Linked DNA regions of Homo sapiens: all the other regions are linked to region 3. The links are contacts of gene promoters, found by promoter capture Hi-C in blood cells and fetal thymus (Javierre and others, 2016). All regions are on one chromosome and are shown on one strand. The core of a region is centred on a gene start or on the middle of the fragment in contact, and the rest is flanking DNA. Distances in the headings are between cores, read along the strand shown.

Region 1 (3,220 bases), core at 320-2,819, 2.0 Mb after region 3:
GCCACCCCAGGCAGCACCCCATGGGCTGCGACTAGCAGTGAAGCTCGGGTCCAACCGTGGAGAAGGAGGGAGAGGCAGGGTGCCAGGAAGGCCACCTGGGCAAAGTGCTGGGCGGCTCGGGCCAGAGGAGGCCAAGGCAGAGGGATGGGTCTGGGCCCGAGAGGTCAGGTGAGGTGGAGCTGGCACTGCCTGGGGAGAGGCTGTGACTGGGAGGCCCCTGGAGCCTTGTGCAGGAGCAGCGTCTGCGGGAAGGGCAGCTGAAAGCAGGAGCACATCGGGTGCCACCCAGTGGGGTGGAACAGCAGAGAAGAAGGCAGGTGCCCCAGGCAACTCCTTGATGTGTTTGCCTTGAGGAGGGGCCCAGAGGATGCTTCATGGGGACAAGAGGTGCCAGTAGAGGGGAGAGGCTGTGGTTTTAGGGAAGAGGACAAGAGGAGGGAGGTCAGAGAGATTGGGGTTGGCCTGGAGTTCTAGGGACCGCTCGTCTTTTCAAGACTTTTCTGACTAGACCTTCTGGAGAACTTTTTATAATTTCCACTTAGAGTTTTTCCAGAGGAGGAACAAGAGGCTTTGATGGGGACATCCAAGAACTGGTGTGACCTGGGGGATGGCGCTGTGCCTGGCAGAAGCTGTGCCCCAGGGGAAGGAGGCAGGCCCTAGTCCCCAGACTCCCCTCTTCTGCAGCTAGAAGGAGGATGGCAGGGCCAGGCAGGACACAGAGAAGAGCCAGCAGGGCCCATCCCCTCTAGGTGAGCGGGATCTCCGGGCCCCCAGGAAATGGGAGCATCCAAAGCAGCATTGACCACAAGGGGCAGGGAGGAGAGGCTGGAAAGGAGGTCTGTGCATAACGCCTCCGATTCCTGGTAGAACCTCACAACAGCTCGTTGACGGCGGGTCGGTGAGCATTTAAAGAGCAGCAGATTCTCATTCAGAGGCAGTGTGGTTCCATGGAAAGCAAAGCATTTCAGTGATGCGTGCTTAATTCAATCAGCTTACTTTACGCAAAAAGGATCCAGTGCCAGGAGTCCCCGGCCTGTCATGAAGGGTGGGGACAACGGTGTCCAAGAGCCACAAATAAAATGCCAAGGGAATGCTGTGACGGGGGCCCTGGAGGGCTTTGTGGAGGAGGTTGAAAGATTCTCAGAGCCTTCAACAATGCTCTGTGGAAGAATTTGGGAGGTTACATTGAAATGGTAGGTGGGCGAGGCTGGGGGAAAAAGGGAAGATTTCCAACACTTTGGATCTACAAGGACACAACAGGTTTTGTTTTTTTAAATGGCTGTGGCTAAAATCAGCTTCCTGGTAGCATCATAAATGGGGATGGAAACCCTCATAAGCCTGGTGTCAGTGGTGGTGGCACCTTGGTGAGCAGGTGACCAAATGGCCTGAGTGGTGACGTTAATCTACCTGTTCACTGGCTGTTGCCAAAGCGAGGCCTATTGGGACAGGTTTGCATTTCTTCTTGGCTTCTAAGACCAGGTTATGACAGACATCCTACAATGCAGGAGGAGCTGGACAGGAGGACAACATCACACCTGGCCCTGCCATCCTCCATCTCCAGAAGCCATGGTCCAGCAGGGAGATGCACGACTCATGGTCTTCCACGCTGAGTGGAAAAGCCATGGCAACGCGGGCACTGCCAGGGGTTTCAGGGTGCTCTGCATCTGTTTCTTAAATAAGACTGTCTTGTTAATCCTGAACATTCCAGCTGCTTTTGTCACAGTGTCCCCGGACAAGAGGGAGCCTGAGAGAGACTTAGAGATCAGGAGAAGCAAACCGGCCCACAAGTGTGATGGATGCTGTGTCAGAGTGTCTAGGATCCAGGAGCCCCGCTCTCCCCTTAGAGACGGATGCAGTTCCGTGCACACAGGCCCTCTTTCCTGTGTAGGGGAGGGGCATGCTGTCTGCACATGGCATGCTCCCTCCTGCCCAGGGAAGCCAACTGCCATATTAGCAAAGATGGTTTGAAAATGAACAAGAATCCCAACTTAAAATATATATATATATGCAGTCATTCCTTGGTATCCGAGGGGGATTGGTTCCAAGACCCCCATGGTAACAAAATCTGCAGATGCTCAAGTCCCTGATATAAAATAGTGTCGTATTTGCATAGAACTTACACAATCCTCTTGTGTACTTTAAATCATCTCTAGATTACTTATATATATCTAATACAATGCAAATGCCAAGTAAATGGTTGTTATACTGTCTTTTTAGAATTGGTATTATTTTTCATTGTTGTATTGTGATTTTTATTGTTTTTTAAAGTATTTTTTATCCTGGCAGGGTGCAGTGGCTTACGCCTATAATCCCAGCATTTTGGGAGGCTGGGTCACTAGACCCTAGGAGTTGGAGACTAGCCTGGGAGACAAAGTAAGACCCCATCTCTACAAAAAAAAAAAAAAAACGCTGGATGTGGGGTCGGGCACCAGTGACCTCAGCTACACGGGAGGCTGAGTCAGGAGGATTGCATGACCCAGAGGTCTAGGATGCAGTAAGCCGTGATCACACCACTGCACTCCAGCCTGGGTGACAGAACAAAACCCGTCAAAAAAAACAAAAAACAAAAAAAAACAAAGAAACATAAAACTGTTTTTTAATCCGAAGTTGGCTGAATCCATGGAACCCACAGGTGTGTAGAAGGACATCTCCCACAATGTTAAGTCATCACTTACCAGTGTCAGCTTCCTGATGTGGCTAAGTTTAGACACACACGCGGGCTCGCACGAAAGATCCTAATGTCGAATAAATTGGGGGGAAAAATCAGTTCAGCTAGATGGACAGATTCCTGGAAGTCTTAGTGTGCACACATGTGCTGTGCCTGTGCAGGAGGGCAGTGGGGAAGGCAGAGCCCCGTGTGAAGGGACATCTTTGACAACAAGAGCATTTCCAAAACCACCGGGGAAGTATGCATGTGCAGCAGGTGGGTTTCAGTTCCCTCCAGCGTCTCACATGCTGGAACGGTCTCTCCATCAGCTCTGACCCAGGCCCAGAGGCCTGACACTCCTGCTGAGTGCTCAGGTCCTGGTGGCACAAGCCTTCCCCAGTCCTGCAGCCTTCGGGAAGCGGCGGTGCCCAGGGCGCAGAGCTCTGGCGTTGCACTCATGGGCTTATGCTGCCCTCTAGTGCTGTGCTCTTGAAATAGCTGTGTGGCTTTGCCACTTAAAGCTGATGCGGAATCTAGGGCCTCGTGGGCCCTCTAAAGAAACTGCCTCATTGC
Region 2 (3,236 bases), core at 151-2,650, 1.0 Mb after region 3:
GAGTTACAGGCATGAGCCACGGTGCCTGGCCTGTTTCACTGTATTTCTTATGGTGTCACTTGTTCCTCAACCTCCTCTATTTCCTGTAAGCACGAAGTTGGGTCTAAAGTCTTGAATATACACTTTTGGGCTGGGTGGCATTGTGCATTGTGACTACATGCCTGGTCATCCAGTATGATGCCCAGATCTCCCACTGAATCCAAGAGGCAGTGGGCATAGGCCTTGTTCCTCTCCTTTCAAAGGGCAAAAAATCTGTGGTCAGGCCCCTTTTCCTGCATAAAATCTCCACATCCCTGTTCCATTCTCATCTCTCCCCACCGACTGAGAAACATGCCCCATTGACTCACTGTGCCTTCTGGTACCTCCACCAGGCAAGATTTTGCTGAATTTACCTCCTGAATTTGCAGTGCACATGTGTGAAATTTTTTGGAATTAAAAAAATTAAAACTGTACTTTTCAAGATTTAAAACTGTAATATTGATTGTGTTCTTCATGGCCCCAAAGCAAGATTCTGTTGTATCTTGGAGGAGGGGGGTCACTACTCTGAAATCCCAGTGATGGGCAGCACTGAGCAACTGAGAGCCTCAGCATTCTTGGGCTTGTTCACACCCACAAGCTTGGCACAGATCCAAGTCCTGCAAGATGCCTGGGAGGGCAACTGAGACCTGTGGCCCAGCCACATTGACTCAGGAGGTAAAAATGTCAACAGGCCACAACCTCCAGGGCTCCTGGAATTGGAGACGAAGCCAGTTCTGAGCTTATGCAACCATAGGACAGTGAGAGAGGGCCATGGACTCGATTTAGAGCCACAAGATGAGAGCACTGCTGGAGCACCGTGGGGATGCTGACAAATCTTCTCAGGGCTTCAAGGACCGTGGCTACAGGTACATCTCAGCCAAACTTGGGCACATGTTGCAATCAAGGGACTGAAGCTACAACCACCTGGCCCGTGGTCCACCTGGAGTTTTGTTTTGTTTGTTTTTGAGATGGAGTCTCACTCTGTCACCCAGGCAGGAGTGCAGCGGTGCGATCTTGCTTCACTGCAATCTCCACCTCCTGGGTTCAAACAATTCTCCTGCCTCAGCCTCCTGAGTAGCTGGGACTACAGGTATGCGCACCCACGCCCAGCTAATTTTTGTATTTTTAGTACAGACAGGGTTTCTACTAAAACCCTGGTTGGCCAGGCTGACCTCGAGCTCCTGACCTCAAGTGATCTGCCTGCCTCAGCCTCCCAAAATGCTGGCTGGGATTACAAGCATGGGCCACTGTGCCCGGCCCCACCTGGAGTTTTAAAATTCTGATTTATAAATTTATTATATGACAGTCTACCAAAAGTATGCAAATCCGGCACTACACTTATTTATGCATTCAGTGAGTCACCTTTATCTGAGTGCAAGTGGCAACTGTTCTAGAAAATGGGAACCATGAGGTTATCAAAGAACCTGGAGGTAGGGTCAGATGAGGAAGCACATCATTATGATGTCTTACACATGCAGTCATGTCTCCTCTTATAATCCTAAGACTCACCTGTGAGATTCCTATTACAGCCCCTAGTTTACATGTAGGAATATCAGAACCCCAAGGTTTAGAAACAGAACGGCCAGAAACAGGAGGAGGATGGCCATGCAGCTGGGCGTGGCAAGGCCAGGCCTCCCAAGTCTGCATGACTCTTAAGCTCCTGGCCATTCGTTACAGCACGCCATCTCCAATGCAGAATCACACCAACAGAACTGAAACTGCACATTAAAGAGAAGGCGAGTGTCACCAAAATCTGTTTCCCAGGCTTCTTTGCAGAATTCCAAATTCCTAGCACGACCAATAAGGCCCTTCTTCTACCTCTGCAGCCTCAATTTATGTCACTTTCCTGTTGTTCCCTATGCTTCGGCCATCCTGGCCTTTCTGTGCTCTGAAGGAGTGGTGCTCCTTCCTAAACCAGGGCCTTTTCACGTGCTGTTCCCACTCCAGTTCACCTAGCTGGTTTCTGCTTATCCTTAAAGTCTGGGTTTATCTTATTTCCTCAAGGGAGGCCTCCCTGCTCTGGAGCAGGTCAGGCCACCATGTCCTTTACCGTAGAGCACCCTACTTGTCCTGGACAGCACCTTCACAGATGCTTCTCCTTCAAGGGGTCAGAGTCACCAGGCCACCACTACAGCGCCTGAGCCCCGGAGGTTTCTGATTTCCACAGAAAGCTTCAAGTGCATGCTGTGTGTGAGTGAGCCTGGCCACTTCCTCTGTGGGACTTCAGTTCCTTATCAGTAAAACAGAGCCCGTGGCTTTCCATGAATGTGGGGTTGACTTACCAGAATGCTCAGGTCCCACGTTATCCTCTTGAACGCAGCAGCTTTCCTCTAACCCACGAAAATGGAAAAGCTCCTGTGCCATTCCCAAATACTTATTTAATCTGCATTCTGGGTGGCCCCTAGGGCAGGTGACGGGCATTCTCTACCGCAGGATGGTGCCCCACCTGGTCCTCCCCAGGCCCTGTGGCCATCCTGGCCACCTCCCTGTGGGCTCTCCCAGCCCTGCTGTTCAGCACTGTCCCTACCTCACAGAGGTAGGGACCTCTTTTTCTTACCTTCTTCCTTTTCTTACCTTCGTTCCTCCAATCCCTGACGGCCCCCAGACCTACTGTAGTTGTCTCTGTGTCTTCGGAGAGAAGACACCCCATTAATGTGCCATGAAACCAAATTTATTCCATTTAAAGGGCTGCCTTCATTCGGAGGCTTTGTCCATGTCTTGGTTTTAACCTCTCTTTTCTGAAATTACAGTAAAAATAAATAGGTGTGTGTTGCTTTAACTTTTCCCTTGGAGAAATCTGAAGCCCCCACCTTTTACTGTCATGGGAAACACCAGGGCCTGAGAAGAACTCCCACCTCGGGCGAGGATGCCGTTCCTGAGCCCCACGCGTGGCCTGGGCTTTCCTTTCCCTACTTCTCTCTTCCCCCGACTTCAGCAGATCCTGAGTCCCACAACTATTCTAGCATTAGCTTCTGCAAGCCCAGCTGGGCTGAGGTTTCTGCGGCTGCTTCCTCTTGGTCTCTCTGGAAAACTCCACTCATTCAGCACCCAAGCAAGAGGTCACCTGTCTGGAACGCACTCCCTCGGCAGCGCTGTGCCACCTCTTTCCACCCCATTTGAGTGGCCGGCACTTACCTGTGCTGTTTGTTACCTGACGTGTCCCTTCTCCCACCTACCAGGCAGTTGGTGCGGCGCTCCCAGCACACTCGGGCAATGAG
Region 3 (3,239 bases), core at 76-2,575:
TTAGTGTCCTTGTCATCCATGGAGTGGAAATCTTTCTACTGGCAAGATTAGTAATCACTTCCATGACCCCCAAAACGGCTCTTCCTTCCATTTCCCTCAAGTACTGTCTGGAGCAGCGGTTGGAATTAATAGAGGGGCCATAATCTCCAGACCTGAATACCAAATCAATCCTGCAGCCCCCCACACCCTTAATGCCCCTGCACTTTCTTGCTTATCCTTTTTCTCTCGTCTCCATTTTTCTTTCCTCCTTCTGGTGTTCCGGAACCTATGATACTCTCCTGGTTGTTTGAATTTTTACAACCTACCAGATAATAATCTCTTGTGATCCTCAAAGCTTCCTTAAAGCAAACCCTGAATCACTGTGTTTTAAAACCAGTATGAAAGACTATTGTGTGGGATAATGTTACATTGTTTCACAGCCCTACAAAGTTTGGCCACAAAACGTGTGGGCAGATTCCGTAACTCAACCGGAAACGCGAAGGACTGAAACAAATCAACACACAAAAAACGAAGCCAGCGAGAAAGATCCAACCCGGGCCCCCTGCCTGAAATGGGACACGGGGATGACGGGGCAAAGCCGGGCAAAACCGTGCTCCTGGCTCTCGCGATTCAGGAGACGCGCCAGGCTCACTGGGGACGACAGCGACGACGGCGGCGGCTCGCATTGCTCCACGCTTCCCGTCAGGGGGGCTCGAGGGACCGCCCCAGGCCCGGCCCATGCCCGGGCTCGGAGGGAGCCCCTGGTGCGAGGGCTGCCCGCAGGGCTCCGTCCTCCCGCTGAGGCGCGGCTCCCGGAGCAGGAGGCGCGGAGGCCGCCCTCGGCGTTTCGGAGTCGGGGCGGGGAACGTCCACGGCCAACTGCGGGCAGGGGACCCCCAGGCGGCTACAACAGGTGCGCCGGGGCCGCCCACCCGGCTCGGGGCGCGCCCGCCCCTGCGCCGACCCCCGACCCCTTCCGCCGCCGGGGCCCCGCTGTTACCTGCAGCGGCGGCTCCCGATTCCCGGGAGGGCGGCCCAGGGCCGGCGCCTTACCCGCGGGCAGGCCCACTCGCCCGACGGACGCCGCGGGTCGGCGACAGCGGGGACCGCGGGTCGGCGACGTCGGGGCACAGGTCCTGCGGGGCCGCGGGGGCCGCCAGGGAGGGCGCGACCGCCTGACCGGGCTTCAGGAGCAGTGTCCTCAGCCGGTGACCTGGCCGCTACCCTCGCTCAGTGTCCCCGGCGACGCGCGGGTCCTCACGCGCTCCCTCACTTCCTGCGGCTTTTGGTCCCTCCCGCTCGCCGTCCCTTTAGTTCTGCCCACTTCGCCTCCGGGTTGTCAGGGCAACCGTAGCGACGCCGGCCCTGGCTGAGAGGCGTTAGGAGTCCGGGGGTTCGCCCGCGGAGGCCGGGGAGCAGCCGACCATGGAGCCCCAGAGTAAGGGAGGCCCGGGCTGGAGCTGGGACCGGGGCGGGCGACCGGGCTGGGGCTCCCCGGGAACGAGTGTGGGCGCCCCGCGCGCGACTCCGCAGGTTTCAACGCTCGGACACGGAAATACGGTTTGCGTCTCCTCGCGCTTTTCTCTCCTGGAGAGGGGAGAAGGGGGCTACATCCTGCCAAGTCTGTATGGTTGGGCCGCCGGCGCCCTAGAGTCCGCGCTGGGGGCTGGGAGCGACTGGAGAGCCCCGAGGTATGGGTGGGGAAGGGCGCAGCGACCCCAGCGTGCGTCTTCCTGAAACTTCGCCCGGACGGTTCCATTTACTCCTCCTCCTACTCATGATTTTAGTTTGGTAGTTTGGTTCATTAATTGTAAGTAGCCCATTTTTCTTCTAAAATGTCAGCAATTAAACACGTCCGAGGCTGGGTCTTGTATTTATTAGAGACCCCGTCTTACTCCCCGCCCCCCGCCCCACACCCCTAGTCTGCGACTTGAAGGAGAGAGAGAGAAAAGAAGAGCTTTGTCCAAGTGTATTTGATTCATTCTTAGGGGTTCTACAAGTTAGGACACTCAAAAAATGTTTGTAATCTCTTTTTCTGTTTTCCCATGTTGCTTTCGATGTATGGCAAAAGTTGTGCAGTTTTGAGTTATCAGATCTAAACACGAGCTCTAACTTACTATTTTTGTTGTTGTTTTTACCTTTCCAGGGACTTTGTTTCAAGGCCTTTCTTTCTCTGCCCCGCCTAAGCTGTCTTATTGTTCCTTTTGTTCTCAAAATAAGGGGAGTGTTTTGTATGGAGACTTAAAATTTATCTAAAACCTTTATAGAAGGATGCAGTTTGACTCTCAAACCAAGTCGTCTTATCTTGTACAATTTCAGAAATGAAGAACTCAGACCAAATCTATTCTCTGGGGAAAATGTTGGCATTTTTAAAGGTCATTCGTTTTCCACCAAGAAAGTTTCAAATACTTTTCCTTTTAACTCATTTGCTGAGGAGAAAGCTTGCAAGTTGTGACTTATAGTTGCTTGATAGATTTTGTACAGTATTTGTCATTTGCATTTACAGCTCTTTGGATTCTACATTTTTTTAACCTAGTAAAAGAAATTTAGCATACAAGAACGCTAAAATTTTTGTTTTATGTCAAACTGATGGCAGGCTGTGTATATTCCCGCCTTAGAGAAGTGAGTTGAAATATACCTTTTAAAAACAGCAACTTGGCCTGGCCCGGTGGCTCACGCCTGTAATCCCAGCACTTTGGGAGGCTGAGGCAGGCGGATCACGAGGTCAGGAGATTGAGACCATCTTGGCCAGCATAGTGAAACCCATCTCTACTAAAATACAAAAAAAAAAAAAAAAAAAAAAAAAAAAAAAAAAAAGCCAGGTGTGGTGGCGCGTGCCTGGAGTCCTAGCTATTTGGGACGCTGAGGCCGAGGCAGGGGAATCGCTTGAACCCGGGAGGCGGAGGTTGCAGTGAGGCCAGATTGCACCGCTGCACTCCAGCCTGGTGACAGAGCGAGACTCCATCTCGAAAAAACAAAAAAAAGAACTTTATTTCTTCAGATTTATGTTACTGTTTTCATGTGTAAACTATAATTTCAAGTTCTTCAGTGCTGTCTTTATCCATTCATTCATTTATAGTGCCTGTTATGTTGCAGCTCTGTTCTAGGGATTGAGGATTGAACAACGGATCGGACAGTGTTAGTTTTGGTCATCCCAGGAAAACTAAGCAGAGGCTTGCTCAAGAACTCCTGAGGTCTTGGTGGGGTTCGGAGATTGGGGGAAGAGGAGATGGACAAAGGCTCCCAAGAGGAAGTAGTAC

Evidence for each region. Contacts are between HindIII fragments. The CHiCAGO score rates a contact against its expected background, and 5 or more counts as called.
Region 1: a contact is called between a fragment that was not itself captured here and the fragment with the promoter of FANK1 in region 3, in 1 of 17 cell types (naive CD8 T cells). The highest score is 5.0, in naive CD8 T cells.
Region 2: a fragment that was not itself captured here is called in contact with the fragment with the promoter of FANK1 in region 3 in 1 of 17 cell types (M2 macrophages); the score reaches 5.6 in M2 macrophages.

The regions. Positions count from the first base shown.
Region 1 is chr10:127,851,052-127,854,271 of GRCh38, forward strand. No RefSeq gene overlaps it. Among named protein-coding and RNA genes, the nearest start is that of CLRN3, 40 kb to the right of the region's middle. RefSeq lists a silencer at 3,039-3,118. The HindIII fragment of the contact is 5,917 bases long and covers 1-3,220 here.
Region 2 is chr10:126,901,687-126,904,922 of GRCh38, forward strand. It overlaps LOC105378550 (a long non-coding RNA gene), which reads right to left. Exons shown (of 2, transcript XR_946449.3): 1 at 2,874-3,236; 2 at 1-2,756. Among named protein-coding and RNA genes, the nearest start is that of DOCK1, 2.1 kb to the right of the region's middle. The HindIII fragment of the contact is 1,573 bases long and covers 615-2,187 here.
Region 3 is chr10:125,895,239-125,898,477 of GRCh38, forward strand. FANK1 (fibronectin type III and ankyrin repeat domains 1) reads left to right here and starts at 1,326. Exons shown (of 11, transcript NM_145235.5): 1 at 1,326-1,417. The coding sequence starts at 1,405. It also overlaps a transcript of DHX32 not described here. RefSeq lists silencers at 831-910, 1,131-1,210, 1,371-1,510, 1,602-1,896. The HindIII fragment of the contact is 2,086 bases long and covers 333-2,418 here.